Regions from separate parts of the Homo sapiens genome. Here all the other regions are linked to region 3. Evidence: promoter capture Hi-C in 16 types of primary human blood cells and fetal thymus (Javierre and others, 2016). All regions are on one chromosome and are shown on one strand. Each heading gives the region's core, a stretch centred on a gene start or on the middle of the fragment in contact. The rest is flanking DNA. Distances are from core to core; before and after follow the strand shown. Region 1 holds the start of CDKN3 (cyclin dependent kinase inhibitor 3). Region 2 holds the start of TMX1 (thioredoxin related transmembrane protein 1). Region 3 holds the start of PSMC6 (proteasome 26S subunit, ATPase 6).

Region 1 (3,697 bases), core at 589-3,088, 1.7 Mb after region 3:
ATTTTGTTTTCTAATTTGGCCTTTGATTTGATTTTGTTTTCTAATTTGGCCTGAGATAATCAGCCAATATGGTCACCATATTGAACAGCACAGATCTAAAAGGATTTCCCGAGTATGGAAAATCTCTGTGGGTGTCTAGGATGGTTAATTTTGTGCATCAGCTTGACTGGGCCATGGTGCCCAGTTATTTGGACAAACATTATTCTGGATGTTTCTGTGAAAGTGTTTTTGGATGAGATTTGCATTAAATTGGGAAACGTTGAGTAAAGCAGACTGCCATCCATAATATGGATGGGCCTCATCCAATCAGTTGACGAGCTGAATACAACAAAAGGCTGACCCTGCCCTGTGCAAGGGGTAATTCTGCCAGTAGACAGCCTTCAGACTTTACATGCAATATTGGCTCTTCTTTGTTCTACAACAGCTTTTGGACTCGAAGTACAGCCTTTCCTGAGTCTCCAGCGCACTGGCCTCCCCCCATCAGATTTTGGACTCTCCAAGCTTCCACAAGCACAGGAGCCAATTCCTTAAAATAAATCTGTTTCTATATCCATATATACACATCCTATTCATTCTTTATCTCTGGGCAACCATGACTAGCTAATACAGTCTCTAAATCAAACTGTGGTACCTTCTTTACTAAGGAATTCCTTCTAATAGCTCTATACCCATTGGCTTTCACAACATGAATCAGGGGTTGAAATTTCTGCATATTTTTCTCAGATCTGCTCCAGGCGACTTCCTTTCCCATGGCTAGTTAAATGGGGACTGGAGAAGGCGGAGAAATACTCACATTTTTAAAAGATTACAGCTAATTATGTAGACACACTGGCCCTTAGACCTATCTTACCTGGCATTTTATAATTTCCCTTTCACACAATATAATTTAATTCATATTTGGGGGACAGGAATATTGATCTACACTGTAACTTGTCTAGTTTCTGGAACGATAAACTAAAACTTCAAGCATATAAAATATGTTTATACTCTAAATTTTTAGTTTTTTCCCTAGTATTTGTATGTCTAGATATAATTACAAAGTCTATGTGATGTTTTTCATGTGACGATCCAATACAGTGCTTCCCTGAGCCCTTAAAAAATAAAAAATAAAAATACAACTTAAAGAAACAAAAACTCCCTACCGTAGCCGCTACAAGGGAGGCTAAGGCGGGAGGATTGCTTGAGGACAGGAGTTCGAGGCCAGCCTGGGCAACATAGTAAGACTTCCGTCACAAACACAAAAACTCCCAACCCGGGTTCGAGACCAGCCTGACCAACATGGAGAAACCCCGTCTCTACAAAAAATACAAAAATTAGTCAGGCTTGGTGGCACATCCTTGTAATCCCAGCTACTCGGGAGGGTGAGGCGGAGACTCGCTTGAATCCGGGAGGCGGAGGTGGCGGTGAGCCGAGATCGCGCCATTGCACTCCAGCCTGGGCAACAAGAGCGAACTCCGTCTCAAGAAAAAAAAAAAAATCACCTCCCAACCGTATGGACCACGCTGACATCCTGCCATCAAGAAGCAAAGCTTTCCAGCGTCCCCCAAGCGCTAGGGCCGCCTTCTGACTCTTCCGCCCCGCCTCCGCCCCCTGCACTCTCCCAACTGGCGGGAGGAGGGCGCCCTCCCAGCCAATCAACGTCCCACAGGGCCCGCCTCCCGCGCGTCTTTCAAAGGTCTTCTAGGAACCAGTCAGCGATTAGAGGCCGAGTCTTCGGCCACCCAAAGGCGGAGTAAGAAACCAGAAGCGGATCTGATTGGTTGCTGGAAGACGCCGCGCCCACCTCACAGAAGGACGAACCAGTGAGCTAAGCTGCGGGGCGCGGGCTCGGCCGGGGCACCGGTGAGTCGCCGGCGCTGCAGAGGGAGGCGGCACTGGTCTCGACGTGGGGCGGCCAGCGATGAAGCCGGTGAGTCGGACGTGCTGGGGTTTGGAGGAGCGAGGCGGCAGGGACGCAAGCGGTCCCGGGGACCCGATCCTGGGCCGGAGGGCAGCCCTAGCCTGGTAGCAGTGCGACTGGCGCCGTAACCGTTCTGCGGGTCGGGGAGGTGACTCGCACGGGCCCAGCACGGGCACGAGAGACGAAGGAGCAGGGTCGGTGGCCGACGAAGGAAAGACGGACATTCGCTGTGCACCTGCTGTGGGCTGTCACCTGTCCCCTGCGGGGTCTCATAAGCCTCCCAGCCGCCCAGCCAAAGAGGGCCGAGCCTCGTTGTACCGAGGAAACCGAGCCGAAGAGCTTGAGTGTCAGCGATGAGTGGGCGCGATACCCCAGCCCCGAAGGGTGGCCGGGCGCTACCTGCGCCCACAGGGCCTGGGGAAACCTTGAGTACGAATGCCACGCCGCGGCTTGTGGGCGACACCACCGCTGTCACCATGCCCCAGGGCCACCTGGCAATGCTGCTCTTTTCCCGTGACGTTCAGAATCACAGGGCCTGGGGAAGCAGAAACGTCCAGCTCTGTTAGGATTAATAAACCTGGTGAATGGGCCACACAAATTTGAAATATGAATCATCAAAGTTGCTTTAAAGAAAAAACAGATGCAGGCAAGGAGCTGAAGATCCCCCACCTAACCCATATTTCCTACTGCCCGGCTTGACAACCTACTGGAAGCCTTTCCTTTGGGTGCAGTTGATTATAATACTTCAGATAGAGCCAAAGCAACAGAAATCCATAGCCTAGGGCCGGGTGGTGTCTCGCGCCTGTAATCCCAACACTTTGGGAGGCCAAGGCGGGCGGATCACTTGAGGCCAGGAGTTGGAGACAAGCCTAGCCAACACGGTGAAACCCCGTCTCTACTAAAAATACAAACATTAGCTGAGCGTGGTAGTGCACGCCTGTAGTCCCAGCTACTCGGGAGGCTGAGCCACGCAAATAGCTTGAACCCAAGAGGCAGAGGTTGCAGTGAGCGGATATCACGCCACTGCCCTCCAGCCTGGGCGACAGAGCAAAACCCTATCTCAAGATAAAAGAAAGAAAGAAAAAAAAGTCCGTAGCCTAAATTAGCCGTCCTGTGATCTTCTAGTACCAAGACCGTTGTAGAATATAGCTTCAGAGCTAGAAAGAGCATTAGGTGCTTACAATTGCTAATCCCTATGTTGCCATGTGGAGGGACATCAGCTGTCCTTCACTCCTGGCCTCTTTCTCCACCTGTCCCCATTGAGTTATCTGATCCCCGAGTTTGGAAGGAACTGAACACCAGTATCTCAACTTTTTCTTTCCTTCTTTCTTGGGATCTACCTGCCTGCCTGCAGAAGGTGCTTTCTGGTCCACTCTCTGGCACACAGGAGCCCCAGACTGTCCATGGCCACCTGTGACTGGGTGGATACATTTGTCTAATTCTGGGGTGAACAAGGGGCAAGCCCACGTGGCAACAGCTTTAAGCTGCATACTCCATTTGATATACAATAATAAAACTCCATTTCTTTATCTTTCAATTGGTTTCAACTAGGGAGTGAGAAAAGGGTATGGGTTTTGTTCTGTTTTGTTTTTGTTTTTCTTTTTCTTTTGATTCCTTAAAATTTCAACAAGGAGTGTAGAAGTCTTCCATGTCAAAATGCTGCAGGATTAAGTTCCAACTGCTTAGATCAGCATACGAAGTCTATCTCAATCTCTCTAGTCTAGTGATTCATAAAGTTGGAGGCAGGTTATTTCACCTACACCACCCCCACCAAACTACTAGGCCATGTGGGGATGT
Region 2 (3,702 bases), core at 601-3,100, 1.5 Mb before region 3:
TAGATGTTGAACACCTCCAACACATCCAACATAACCATAATGTTCCTCTGCACCTTCCCTGTCTATAATCTCTCAGAAGTAAACCAATATTCCGACTCCTATAAAATCCATTAGCTTTACTACATGTTTCAAAGAAAACAAATGAGAACTCTGAAGGACATTTAATTGGAAAACTGCTTTAGCACATTATAAACTTACCAATTTGCTTGTAAACGCTAACCATTTGGCGCCAAAATCCTGGGAGGGTCTTTTAAACCGTTCTTCCTCAAAGCACCGCCCCACTTTTTACACCACGCCTCCTTTTGCTCTGTTCCTTCCCCCACAATATTGGGACACCCTAGGCGGTAGAAGCAGCCGCTTTTCTGTCATGCGCATTGCGGAGAGTCGTTCTTCCCTCTTTCCCGACTTCACCACTCACTGGGATCAGACCCCTGTCATGCGCATTGAGAGTCCTCTAGACAGGCGCTCCTCGCAGCACCGTAGTGCGCTTGCGCTGAGCAGCCCGCGAGGGCGGAAGTGGGAGCTGCGACCGCGCTCCCTGTGAGGTGGGCAAGCGGCGAAATGGCGCCCTCCGGGAGTCTTGCAGTTCCCCTGGCAGTCCTGGTGCTGTTGCTTTGGGGTGCTCCCTGGACGCACGGGCGGCGGAGCAACGTTCGCGTCATCACGGACGAGAACTGGAGAGAACTGCTGGAAGGAGACTGGATGATAGAATTGTGAGTGCGGGGCGGCCAGGGTCCTACGTCCGTGCCTGGACACACGACTTCACCCCGCACGTTCCTCGTGCGGGTCGCAGGCTCCCCAGGACTGCGCCTCCGAGTTGCGGAGCGAGCGTCCCCGACTTCTGCAGCTCCCCAAACTCTTGGGATCTGCCGCCAGCTTGGTCCCACCCCCTCGTCTCTTACCCGTGAATGTTAAGTTTCTTCTGGGGTGCACCCTCGTTTCGTTTCTTGGGTTGTGGTGCGCCCAAAGGGTTAGTGCCAATGCGAATTCTGACATTTTTCATGACTTTGAGGATGCGACTGGGGCGCGGGGAGGGAGGTGTCCGACTCGTGTCTAAGTAGTTAAAGTGATTCTTCACAGACTTCTACACTTATTTTCACCACATTTTACATAAGAGAATATTGAGCAAAATTTCTCCTCTCGTTTTGTCTGTCCTTAAAAGATAGTCTCTTTATGGTGTTGGAATTTGGCGCTTTTAAGCTTTTTTTAATGGATTGGGTACGTTTCTTTTTTATTGTAAATACTGAGTCAATTCAAGTTGGGTTATTTTTAAGTTTTCGTTTTCTCTTTTTGCCTCCTCTTTTGCTTTCTCTTTTTTTCACTCCTCATCTCATTTTTCCTTTGGGTGTCTTTGTAGTGTAGAGAATACCTTGGGTTGTGACTCCTAGGTCTTTGTAAATGGTATTACATTAAAAGATAATGTATTAATGTATACACTCTCAAGAGCGCCAGGTCATCATTTATTGCTCGAACGAAATCATGTATTTTGTGTGGTGATTTCAATTTAATAATATCTGTTCTGCCGCGGTGGGAAATAAAGTATCTGTCTTTGCTTTAGATGCTAAGTCGTTGTTGATGGTGGTATTATACATATTAGCAGTATTTACTGATAATAGTAAAAGCATAATTATTAACAGTGTACTGGACACCACTAAGCACCTTTACACGAATACCATATTTAATTCCCTACAAATTCTCTATGACAGGTGTTTTTCACGTTTTACAAATGAGTAACAAGATACCTAAATACTTTAGTTAACCTATGCAGATATTGCTGTGCTGGCTTTCTTTGGGTCTTCAGAGTAGGCATACAATAATTGTTGTTAGAACACCTTCTTCTTTAAAAAGGTTCAGCTGGAAGTGGCGTACGCTACCCAGGAGATTGAGGTATGAGGATGACTTGAGCCCAGGGGTTCAAGAGATCCTGGGCAACTAGCAAAATAAATAAGTAAATAAATAAAAATGAAAAGACAACAGGGTTCAGGTGAGTGTTTTCTTGTGTCACGAATACAGCAAGGGTTGTCAAGTTAAGGAGGCCAGTGAAAGTGACATCCCCAAGGGAGAACCCAGAAGGCTAAATCAGTAAGTCCTGTGTTATTTTTTAAAAAAACAAAACTGGCCGGCGCGGTGGCTCACGCCTGTAATCCCAGCACTTTGGGAGGCCGAGGCCGGTGGATCACGAGGTGAGGAGATCGAGACCATCCTGGCTAACACGGTGAAACGCCGTTTGTACTAAAAATACAAAAAATTACCTGGGCGTGGTGGCACGCGCCTGTAGTCCCAGCTACTCGGGAGGCTGAGGCAGAAGAATCGCTTGAATCTGGGAGTCAGAGGTTGCAGTGAGCCGAGGTCGCACCACTGCACTCCAGCCTGGGCGACAGAGTGAGACTCAATCTCAAAAAAAAAGTAGAACATTTATATGGAGGGTAAGATAAAGGGAAATTTTCATAGTATGCATGTAGTCTGCAATTCTGAAATGAATTTTCATTCAGGCACCATTGAAAGCTTCAGGGGAGAGGAACTGTGACACTTTTTCAGTCATCATCATGAGTAACTTGTTTTAGATCGTGCCTGTAAAATAGTGTTATAAGCAATATATTAAGCAATAGTGATCGTGTGTGTATATGCAAAATACAGTCAAGTATTACTCAAGGATATTTTTTAACTCATTATGGTCCAACTATATAAATACAGCAATCAGAAGTAGTATTAAGGAGAACAAGACTAACAAAACATTGAGTATGAGGTAAATCCACATTGGAGCATCTATCTGAAATTATGCTATAGAGTAGTAGTTTTTCTTTTTCCTTAAGTAGAGATTCTAAAGTAAGTTTTTAGAAAGCAACTGACAGCCTGGGCAACATGGCAAAAACCAGTCTCTACAAAAAAATACGAAAAATTAGCTGGGCGTGTGGGCAGGCATCTGTAGTCCCAGCTACTTGGGCTGAGGTGGGAGGATGTCTTGAGCCCGGGAGGTTGAGGTTGCAGTGAGCCCAGATGGCGCCACTGCCCTCCAGCCTGGGTAACAAAGCGAGACCCTGTTTCAAAAAATAAAAAAGCAACTGAGCAACAAAACGAACCTGAAAAAGAAGGACTCTAGTAGTTTTAGTAATAGTCTGCTCCTAATTACAAGTGAATTATCTACAGTAAATCCATTTCTGCTCAGAAGTTTTGTCATGGAGATATTTTCATTGTAATACGATTTATTGTTAGGAGCTTGGCTTTTATACTACCAGTTTGTCTTGTTCTACAATGTCTATTTTAGGAGTTTGGTTTTCATAAAACAAGTGAAGAAAATGTGAAGTACAGAAAGTATAGTTTTGTGTTTAACTGCTTTAGGCTTTATTCTTCCTGGTTCTGTTAAAAAAAAAAAAAAAAAAAGAACAACCCTGTGGTGTATTATAAGATAAAATACAATAAAGTGGAAAAATAAGATCCTCAGGAGATAATACCAGAGGAGTAATTTAAATGCTAATATGCTTGCATTTGTAAATCCAAGGTCTTGGAAACAGGATGACCTAACTGGCCAAGAGTTTTGTTTGGCCTGCTTAGTATTTGTGTGTGGGTTATTTTTTGAGGTAACATTCTCATATAAAAATGCAGCTCTCCATCTTCTTTTAAATATGAATAGCCAGCCTTAGTGTGCCAGCATCCTTAGTGGCAATCCTACTTAATAATGGTTGCCACTTTAAGATGGAATAT
Region 3 (3,374 bases), core at 483-2,982:
ATGTTTTTTGGACAACAATTAATTGTCCCCAGGAACAATGATAGCAAGAGGTATAGCAATGAGGACCTGTAATGCAAAAATTGGAGTCATTACTACCCTTAAAATAAATATCTATTCAAAAGAACACTATTGAGTACATGCCATGTGGCAGATGTTGTGTTTAGGCACATTATCCTATTTAATACTCATGACAACCCCATTAGATAAGTGCAATTATTATGATCATTTTACAGAGATATTGAGGGAGTATGTAATTTTCCCCAAATCACAAAAATCTGAAAGTTGGCCAGGCGTCGTGGCTCACGCCTGTAATCCCAACACTTTGGGAGGCTGAGGCGGGCGGATCACTTGAGGTCAGTAGTTGGAGACCAGCCTGGCCAACATGGTGAAACCCCATTCCTACTGAAAATACAAAAATGAGCCGGGCGTGGTGGCGGGCGCCTGTAATCCCAGCTTCTCAGGAGGGTGAGGCACGACAATCGCTTGAACCCGGGAGGCAGAGGTTGCAGTGAGCCAAGATCGCACCACTACACTGCAGCCTGGGTGACAGAGTGAGACACAGACTCAAAAAAAAAAAAAAAAAAAAAAAAATCTGGCCGGGCGCAGTGCCTCACACCTGTAATCCTAGCACTTTGGGAGGCTGAGGAGGGTGGATCACCTGAAGTCAGCAGTTCGAGACCAGCATGGCCAACATGGCGAAACCCCGTCTCTACTAAAAATACAAAAATTAGCCGGTTGTGGTGGCGCACACCTGTAATGCCAGCTACTCCGGAGGCTGAGGAAGGAGAATTGCTTGAACCCGGGAGGTGGAGGTTGCAGTGAGCTGAGATCGCGTCACCGCTCCAGCCTGTGCGGCAGGAGCAAGACTCCATCTCAAAAGTAAATAAATAAATACATAAATCTGAAGGTTCTATCAGACTTCAAAGTTCCTGCCTCAGCCTACTTCAGCATCTTTATCTTGTACCCCACATCTCTACAACCCACCCCCTACTGGTCTCATTGGCCTCCTTTCTGTTCCTGGAAGTGAGTCAAGCTTTCTACCCACAACCCCCACCCCACTCCACTCCAGGACTTGCACTGTTTGTTTAGGTTTTCTTCAGTTGTTGCAAGGCTGGCTCCTTCTCATCTCAGATATCTGTTCTAGATTAATTCTTCCCACCATACTTCTCACCGTGTTTTAATTCCTTCACAGTATTTGTTAAACTCTGAAGTTTTTTTTATTATTATTTCCTATCAAATGATAAGCAGATCTACCTTTAATACCTCATTCACTGACTGAATGGATGAATAAAACTGTCTACTTCTCCAGCACGTGGAGGTCTTGGACAGTACTGTGTTATAACAAAGGCCATCTGTGTTGTGTCGACAGGCCATCGGAACTCCTTTGAGGTATTACACATTTCCTACTTCACTTCCATCTCAGTTTATTACAGAGCCTTTTATACTTCCGGGACAGCAGTGACTTAATACTGAGGCCTCTCAGGGGAAGACCGGGATAACTGAGTCCTGCTTTACCTATCTCGGCTTGCAAGAAACGGTATAGGTGGAGGCCTCTTTCAGTGTATGCCGGCGCTCTAGGTGAACCGAGACATAGAGGTGGAAGTGGAGTAGAAAGACGGGGCCAACCGGAAGGGGAGGGCTCATGGGCGAACCCACCCCTCCAGGCAGGGTTTCGCCCCTCGCCCCGCCCCTTCCCCCGCCCGGACGGCCATGGCCATTCCCGGCATCCCCTATGAGAGACGGCTTCTCATCATGGCGGACCCTAGAGATAAGGCGCTTCAGGACTACCGCAAGAAGTTGCTTGAACACAAGGAGATCGACGGCCGTCTTAAGGAGTGTGAGTGCACCTTTCTTTCCATTTAATCAAGTGCCTCGACTCGCTTCTGCCTCTGACAAAGCAGAAGCCTTTCGCCGAGCCCGGCAACCGAGCCTTAGAGATGACCAGGCCTAGGGCCAGGGACAAGGCGCTTTGTCATCCGGCCCTGAGCTTGTGGAGCAGCACTCCTTCGGGTGTAGAAATGGCCCAGTCCAGCCCGGGTGACAGAACATCGGCGGCCTTGAGGTGAAAATGAAAAAGAAGTAGAGGAGGAGTGGGGAAGTGGGCCGAGGATGTTTCCCAGGTTAGGGTGCAAGAAGGGCAGTCTTGGTGGAGTCCCGGGACTTGGAGAGGGGAAGGCGCTTGAGTCAAGTAAGCTCAAACAAGAGATGAGACTCAGGGAGTCGGCTTGTTCTTGGAGTCGAAAGACGGCCGCGGAGCTTAAGAGAGAAGTGTTCCAGTTGTCATAATAACCCATATCGTCTTGTGTTTCGTGTTGTACTGTATCAGGCATACAAATTTCCCTTACCTCCTGAGTGCTTAACTTTTTTTTCCAGTGCATTTTCATTGAAAAGCATGAGTAGTTTAATTAAATGGAGGACCATAATTACATGATTCTGTGGAGAACTGCATTTGTTGACTTTATTTAGGGTAGAATGTCAGAGAACAATCCACGTGGGTAGGTGAAGAGGTGAGGAAGGGTCTAAGTGATTATCATTCGGATTTGTAGTCGCAAATCCTAAGTGTCAGGGTGTCAATATCTTCTAAGACTATAACTTAAGATGTGCTTAAACAAGTATTGCCGATCAACAAAGTAAAAGTATGGTGCTTTCTCTGTAACATTTTGTTGTTATACATGCCACCTACTCATTACAAACAGCATTATTTCTTTTATGGTTTGAAACAGTGGATGTGAAACTTAGGTAAAGTGAAGTAGACTTACGTAAACAGTAAAGTGAGACGTAGCGACTTAAACACACTAAGATTACTGTTCAATTAAAAATGTTCAAATTGTATTATTTCAGTAAGGGAACAATTAAAAGAACTTACCAAGCAGTATGAAAAGTCTGAAAATGATCTGAAGGCCCTACAGAGTGTTGGGCAGGTAGGTGATGGAGTTTGGGGAATAGGGGGTGATGGTAATTTGCTTTTTTATTTAGCTGTTGCCAAAAAGTAATGCTTTTTATTTTCTTCCTTAGATCGTGGGTGAAGTGCTTAAACAGTTAACTGAAGAAAAATGTGAGTGATGAATTAGCTTATTAATTAGTAAAGAAACAGTCCACCTCTCTCTCACTTTTGAAATGCTTATTATTTTAATGACAATAATGCAGAGAGAGAGAGTATTTTTGAATAGACTTAAGTTTTCCTTCAACTAATGTCTCCTTGGAGGACAGAAATACAACTAAACCCTCTGTCAACGTGGGTATGTATTTTTTTACTTTCTATTTTTCAATTAGTTCTTTTATGTTTTTTCTTCTAGTCATTGTTAAAGCTACCAATGGACCAAGATATGTTGTGGGTTGTCGTCGACAGGTAATACTTTATATTTGTATAGTGC

What was found. The method cuts DNA at HindIII sites, captures the fragments that hold promoters and counts their contacts. A CHiCAGO score of 5 or more calls a contact.
Region 1: a contact is called between the fragment with the promoter of CDKN3 here and the fragment with the promoter of PSMC6 in region 3, in 1 of 17 cell types (neutrophils). The highest score is 5.7, in neutrophils.
Region 2: a contact is called between a fragment that was not itself captured here and the fragment with the promoter of PSMC6 in region 3, in 1 of 17 cell types (fetal thymus). The highest score is 6.1, in fetal thymus.

Annotation. Positions count from the first base shown.
Region 1 is chr14:54,395,169-54,398,865 of GRCh38, forward strand. CDKN3 (cyclin dependent kinase inhibitor 3) reads left to right here and starts at 1,839. Exons shown (of 8, transcript NM_005192.4): 1 at 1,839-1,909. The coding sequence starts at 1,901. The HindIII fragment of the contact is 7,211 bases long and covers 1,528-3,697 here.
Region 2 is chr14:51,239,732-51,243,433 of GRCh38, forward strand. It overlaps TMX1 (thioredoxin related transmembrane protein 1), which reads left to right and starts at 516. Exons shown (of 8, transcript NM_030755.5): 1 at 516-713. The coding sequence starts at 562. RefSeq lists a silencer at 352-694 and an enhancer at 555-794. The HindIII fragment of the contact is 1,305 bases long and covers 1,199-2,503 here.
Region 3 is chr14:52,705,468-52,708,841 of GRCh38, forward strand. It overlaps PSMC6 (proteasome 26S subunit, ATPase 6), which reads left to right and starts at 1,733. Exons shown (of 14, transcript NM_002806.5): 1 at 1,733-1,837; 2 at 2,842-2,921; 3 at 3,016-3,055; 4 at 3,297-3,349. The coding sequence starts at 1,753. RefSeq lists enhancers at 1,284-1,393, 1,414-1,473, 1,774-2,023, 2,044-2,093. The HindIII fragment of the contact is 4,351 bases long and covers 1,032-3,374 here.